Linked DNA regions of Homo sapiens: region 2 is linked to region 1. Evidence: promoter capture Hi-C in 16 types of primary human blood cells and fetal thymus (Javierre and others, 2016). All regions are on one chromosome and are shown on one strand. Each heading gives the region's core, a stretch centred on a gene start or on the middle of the fragment in contact. The rest is flanking DNA. Distances are from core to core; before and after follow the strand shown.

Evidence for each region. The method cuts DNA at HindIII sites, captures the fragments that hold promoters and counts their contacts. A CHiCAGO score of 5 or more calls a contact.
Region 2: a fragment that was not itself captured here is called in contact with the fragment with the promoter of RHBDL3 in region 1 in 1 of 17 cell types (erythroblasts); the score reaches 5.2 in erythroblasts.

Annotation. Positions count from the first base shown.
Region 1 is chr17:32,264,536-32,268,029 of GRCh38, reverse strand. RHBDL3 (rhomboid like 3) reads right to left here and starts at 2,198. Exons shown (of 9, transcript NM_138328.3): 1 at 1,730-2,198; 2 at 105-128. The coding sequence starts at 1,840. It overlaps LOC105371731 (a long non-coding RNA gene), which reads left to right and starts at 2,579. Exons shown (of 3, transcript XR_934665.2): 1 at 2,579-2,765; 2 at 3,134-3,284. The HindIII fragment of the contact is 5,065 bases long and covers 489-3,494 here.
Region 2 is chr17:32,403,355-32,406,465 of GRCh38, reverse strand. No RefSeq gene overlaps it. Among named protein-coding and RNA genes, the nearest start is that of PSMD11, 40 kb to the left of the region's middle. The HindIII fragment of the contact is 1,780 bases long and covers 715-2,494 here.

The sequences.
Region 1 (3,494 bases), core at 949-3,448:
CACCATCTCAGGAGCGCGGAGCTAGGGAAGCCCACGCAAGCAGGGAGACTGAGACCGATTTCAGGGAGGGCTGGAAGGAAATGGGGGGTTAACTGCTCACATACCTGATCAAACAGGACTTTCCAGTGCTGGCAGAGAGGGAGGCCATGCAGGAGAGGAAGAAGAGGAGAGAAAGAAAGACACACTTATCACCAAGGTCTCTGTAGTCCTCGGATGTTTCTGACATAGCCTCCCAGCGGCTGCCCAGGAGTCATGACCAGGCTCAGGGACTGGCCACAGGAGAGCAGGGGAAGTCTGGGAGGAGCTCCCCAATGAGTCCACACTGAGCAGAGGGAGGAAACTCACAGTAAGGGATGGGGTGGGGGCGGGGGCGGCAAGGTGGGTGTTGCTGGTTCTGGAACTGGCAGAACAAGTGATTCTCAACAATTACTAAATAAAGGCGTCCAAATATGTCCAAGCGCCTCTAATAATTTCTGCTGCCTAAAGCTTATGTCCACAGCTACTCCCAGGCCTGGGAGAGCATGGCCAGGTGCAATTCCATCAGACCCCGGCGCAATGAGTCTCACCTGCTGGGAGCTAGAGCCCCCCCCTCCCCCCCCAGGAGAACTCACCTCTGCATAAACACTAACATTTTGCCTGCAGTTTTTTGTTTGTTTGTTCGTTTTTTGTTTTTTTGCGGGGAAGGGGGGGTGGTGAATGCCGAATGCGGTGAAGCCCACCCATTCTCTTCCAAGGCTGAGTCTAAGTGGTGACTACATCAGATTCTGCCAGGGGTTTAGGGCCAGAAGGAAGTGATAGATTTAACCGCAGACGCCAAAGAGAGAAGATCGTAAACTACCCCCCAACCCCATTCAGACTTTCCCGCTTTCGTTGTGTGGGTTGGGGGCCTGGTTTCACTTCCATCTCCCCACCCTGAGGGAGGAGTGGGCAGGGCAGGGTGTCTGCCCGGTTTTTCACCCCTATGTGTAGGTTAGCCCCGGGAGGTTAACCCAAGAAACTCCAGTTCCCAGGGCTTCGCAGGGCCGGCCCGCAGGACCGGAGGGATGGAGACCCGAGCAGCAGACGGCGGGGAAGCCCTCGGGGCAGCCCCTCCCTCTCCTCGCCCAGGGGACCGTCCCCTGGCACCGCCACGGTCTTGGACTCCCGGGCCTCCTTCTAGGAGCAAAGCCGCTCCCAGCACTCTTTGCCTCCCTGCTCCGGCCGGGGTCAGAGGCGGGGGCCGGCTTGAATTTCAATCAGTGTCGCGGCAAGGCAGGTGCCGGGCGGGAGCTAATCCGGGAGCGGAGGAAGGGGTCGCCAGGCCGGCTTGCATGGCCAGGGACGGGGACTCTGCGGCGTCCGCTCCTTCCCCAGCTCCGGGAGCTCGCAGGTCGCGGGCGTGAGGGGAGGGGGAGTCACCGCCGTGACGCGGCCGCCTCTGCGGGAAAACGCCGTGTCCCGGGCACTGCACCAGCGGCGGGGAGGGGGCTCCGGCGGTGACAGGTCCGCGGCGCAGTGGCGGTGCTGTGTCCCGCAGGGAAGCCGCGGGAACCAGAGCGGGGGAAGCGGTGCGCGCGCGTTTCGGGGAGACCGGTCCCTCCGCCCCCTCCTGCCCGCGGGGACCCGGCCAATCCGGGGCGCTCCCGCGTCACCCTGAAACCTCCAAGTTGCCCGGCGTGGGGCGAGACAGGGGCGGCTTTTCCCCCCGGCGCCCCCTAGAAAGTTTGCCGGGCGGGGAGGGGGCACTCACGTCCTCCGGCGCCGCGGGCAGCCGCTCCTCGGCCTCGGGTTCCAGCTCCTCGATGCGCTCCGCCTCGGCGCAGGCGGCCACCGCGGGGCCCGGGCTGGGGTGCTCGCCCATGGCCGAGACGGGGTCCGGGGGCGGCGGCGGCTGCGGGGCTCGTCCCGGGGCGCCGGGCTAACTTTGCGCCGCGGCGGCCGCGCCGCTCCAGGGGCTCAGTGCGCGCCGCGCCGCCTCCGCGCCCGCTCCGCAGCCCGCGCCCGCCCCCATGGCCCCGGTCCCCGCGCCGCCGCCGCCTCCTCGCGACCCCGGGACGCCCGGCCCCTCCGCCGCCAAACTTCACTGCGCTAGCTGCCCCGCCGGCCTCCGCCTCCGCCCCGGCCCTCGCGCCCGGCTCCGAGGCGAGGGCGCCCTTGGGCCGGCCCCGGCCCCGCCGCTCCCCGCGCTCCCTTCCCGCTTCTCGCGGCCCCCGCTCTGCGCCCGAGTCTCCTCCTCCCCGCGGAGTCCTCGGGGGCGGCGCGCGGGCGGGGGCGGGGCTGCTCGCGGGGAACGCCGGCCCCCGCCCCGCACCCCACCCCGGGCGCCGCCACCCGGGCCCAGTCGGTCAGAGCGGCGCGGCCCGGGAGCGGGAGGGCTGCGGCGGGGCTGGCGAGGAAGTGGTGGCGCTGCCCGGGGCGGGGATGGGGACTGCGCCGTCCCCGGCCCGGTCACCACCGGCCTGCACTCCGGGCCCGGGCTTGGCTCTTCCATCGGCTTAACCATCACTTGGAGGTGGCAGATATGTGATGGAGACACTATGTTGGCGACGTCAGGGTTAACTAGGAGTGAATTGGGGGCGCGATGTTGTAAGGACGGGATTCCTGCCTCCCGCCCCATTATCCTTACGCCCTATTCACTGCGGTCTCAGATTCTGGGAGGTCTCGGGAGGCCCAGAAATGGGAGAAGTCAGATTGCGGGGTCGTGGGCCCCAAAGCCTAAATCTTGCCCTTCCTACACCCAGAGCTAAGTGACCATGCCCAGGCTTCATTTGACCACATGGACAAAGGTAAGCCCAGGGAAATGCCCCATCTGGGGAGAGGGACGGTAAAGAAACTAAAGCAATCAGAAAGGAAGTTAGCCAAAACGGAGTAGGGGATCTTTTAAAGAAAACAATCGATGCTGTTTCCCTGCAGGAAAGCGCCCCCAAGAGAGACCATCTCCCGAAGCAGAGGCTCTGGCTGTAAATGGTGCTAGTGGCCGGCCTGGCAGGGGCCAGCTCTCCCCAGAGGCTCAGGAGCTTCTCCAGGAGGCATCTCGCAGTCAGTCCCCAGCCCACACCAAGGCTGTGCCCTTCCACTCCTCTTGCTTTCCTCTTCCCACCACCCACTCACTCACTAGTCTTTGCCCTCTTCCTTCCTCTGGGAAACGGAACAGGCTCCTTTCCATTAGTGAGAGCTGCAACTAATGCAGTCATCTTCAGAAAGCAAAGACATAACCCCGTGCCCAGGATCCGAACTGCGACCATCACCCAGCAATGACTGCTCCCCTTAAACACCGAGAAGGGAATTCACTTGATTCTAATTAGGTGAGTTTGCTACAGACACCAATTTTCATCTCTGTTTCAGAAAGTGTGATCATTTCAACTATTTTTGTTTCTCACCACCCTCCTCCCCATCCCTACTCTACTAACAAGTCAAGATCCTGCCAAGATTTCCTTGTAAATAAAACTGTCTGCATGGGGTGTGATTTTGAAAACAGCCTTCAGGGGACAGAAGAGAGGCTGATTCCTTTGTGA
Region 2 (3,111 bases), core at 355-2,854, 140 kb before region 1:
CTCTGTCGCCAGGCTGGAGTGCAGTGGCGCGATCTCAGCTCACTGCAAGTTCCGCCTCCCGGGTTCAAGTGAGTTCCCTGCCTCAGCCTCCCAAGTAGCTGGTATTACAGGCACACGCCACCATGCCCGGCTAATTTTTTGTATTTTAGTAGAGACAGGGTTTCACCATGTTGGCCAAGGTGGTCTCAATCTCCTGACCTTCTGATCCGCCTGCCTTGGCCTCCCAAAGTGCTGGGATTACAGGTGTGAGCTACCACACCCGGCCTAAAGTAAGAAATTCTACACAGCCTACAAAAGAATCTGCAGTAAATGTGGATATTTTTCTTTGGTATACAGAATTGTATCCATGTAATTAATACAAATGCACTATTTTTTTTTTTTTAGATGGAGTCTCACTCTGTCGCCCAGGCTGGAGTGCAGTGGTGCAATCTCGACTCACTGCAACCTCTGCCTCCTGGGTTCAAGTGATTCTCCTGCCTCAGCTTCCCGAGTAGCTGGGACTACAGGTGTGCACCACCATGTCTGGCTTATTTTTTGTATTTCTAGTAGAAACAGGGTTTCACCATGTTGGCCAGCCTTGTCTCAAACTCCTGACCTCAGGTGATCTGTCTGCCTCAACCTCCCAAAGTGCTGGGATTGCAGGCATGAGCTACCACGCCCAGCCACAAATGCACTATTTATTCATCATTGAGGCTTAACTTACAAAAGCAAGCTTTTCTGAGTACATAAGAGACATATCCTAAAGCAATGGTTTCCTTATTTCTCAAATTTTAAAAATATAATACCACTTAATTATGTCATTGATATCCTGATCACTTCAACATCCCTGTAAAGCTAATAATGATAATAATCACAGATTTTCTGTTCTTCATCTCAAGGGCTTCTATTTTTGTTGATGCTTGATTTGTTTCACGCACTTCAAGCAGTGCCTCCCTCTAGACTTGCCATGTTTTATTCTTCATCTTTTTCAGACCTAAAAATAACACAAAAATCCTACAAAGCATTATCTAAAATATTTCTAATAAACAAAATTGCATTTTGTATGCAAAGGACTAAATTATGCACATAAATTAATCATTCCTTCGACAAATACATTATCAAGGAGTGTAGCTTAGATCAAATGTTCTAACAGATCACCCAGATTTTTCAGAGGAAAGACAGTGTAACTGTAGAAAATGTAATATAATTTTCAAAAGTATATCATCAGGGCGTGGTGGCTCATGCCTGTAATCCCAGCACATTGGGAGGCCGAGGAGGATGGATCACCTGAGGTCAGGAGTTCGAGACCAGCCTGGCCAACATGGTGAGACCCCATCTCTACTAAAACTACAAAAATTTAGCCAGGTGTGGTGGTACGTGTCTGTAGTCCCAGCTACTCAGAAGGCTAAGGCAGGAAAATCATTTGAACCCGGAAAGTGGAGGTTGCAGTGAGCTGAAATCACACCACTCCAACCTGGGCGACAGAGCAAGACGTTGTCTCAACAACAACAACAACAAAGTATATCATCAGATGTTTGGGCGCAGTGGCTCATGCCTGTAATCCCAGCACTTTGGGAGGCCAAAGCAGCAGATCACTTGAGGTAGGGAGTTTGAGATCAGCCTGGCCAACATGGTGAAACTCGTCTCTACTAGAAATACAAAAATTAGCCAGGCATGGTAGCACGCGCCTATAGTCCCAGCTACTTGGGAGGCTGAGGCAGGAGAATCGCTTGAGCCCGGCAGGCAGAGATTGCAGTGAGCTGAGATGGTGCCACTGCACTGCGGCCTGGGCAACAGAGCTAGACTGCTTTAAAAAAAAAAAAGTATATTATCAGCTATGTAAATTGTGAAAGATAGTTTCAAAGTGGTGTAAAACACACAATTCTTCCTTGAAACAAAAAATATAACAAAGCCTAGGAAAGCCATCACAACCTACCATTACCACATCCTAATCATATGTCTCCCTCCTTAATTATTGTTTCCAAACTTAAACTCCTGGTTGTGCGTGTATCCCAGTGTTACCTGTCTATGTTAACTTGGAGTCAAGTTCTTTGCCTCATTGCTGGTTTCCCAAGATCTAGTACAAAACTTGGCACAAAACATGCTCAATAAACGATCACTGAATTGAAATAAACCTCCTTTACATACCTTGGAGGCACAAATAACATAAGGTATGCAAAAGTACTTTGGAAACTATCAAGCACCATACGAGAGCTGGTTATTACCAGAATGCCACCAGAGAACAGCATCTCACCATTGGCTGTCCTTTGTAAATTCTATTACTGGCATATATAAATCATTGGATCATTAATGCCCATGTCACATATGGCCAAATTTTACTCTAATAATTTTATTCTTCACCTGTCATTTCTAAACAACCTCTCCCAAACAAAAGATGTCCCCAATTTAAAATACTATTTCAATCATGAGATCCAAATAACTAAATCTATAGCAACATAACTGCATAATAGATAGCTCCAAAAATCATGGACTTCTTTCCCATGGAATAAAAGCTTTCCTACACTGCAGCCAATCTGACACCACACTTAATACTGAGTACATTCCTGTTAAAGGCTTGCTGAATTTTAAGAAAACATAAACCCCATACTCAAACTGTACAAGATAAAATTTGCTTAAGGGTATGTGTAGACAAATGAAACAAATTAGTCAGCTCTCTGTCCTGCCCCTTCTCAGAACCCAACTTCCCTGGTCTTTGCAGTTCTGAGTCGCCCTAATCTTCAGGTTCAACCCTTCCCACAACTACCACTTCCAGAGTTAATCCTGACCCCCAAGCAACTCATTGTTCCACCCATCAGTCTACTGAGCAAACATTCATTAACTACTGTGTGTCAGGCGCTATACTAGGCTTGAGAACATCTATGGCTTTATGGTTAATTGCGGTCTCTATAAGGGTAAGTCTCACATTCTTCTTCTTCTTTAACGTTGTCTTAACCATTCCAGGCTCTTGCCTTTTCATATAAATTTTGGGTTAAGCTTTTCAAGTTCTAAGGAAAGTCATTAGGTATACCATTTAATTTATAATTTGGAGAGAATTAATTTTTTTCTTTTTTAAATTTTATAGTCTTTATTATTGAAACATTGCGTTTCCAAATCACAGTGGTTTCTACTGAC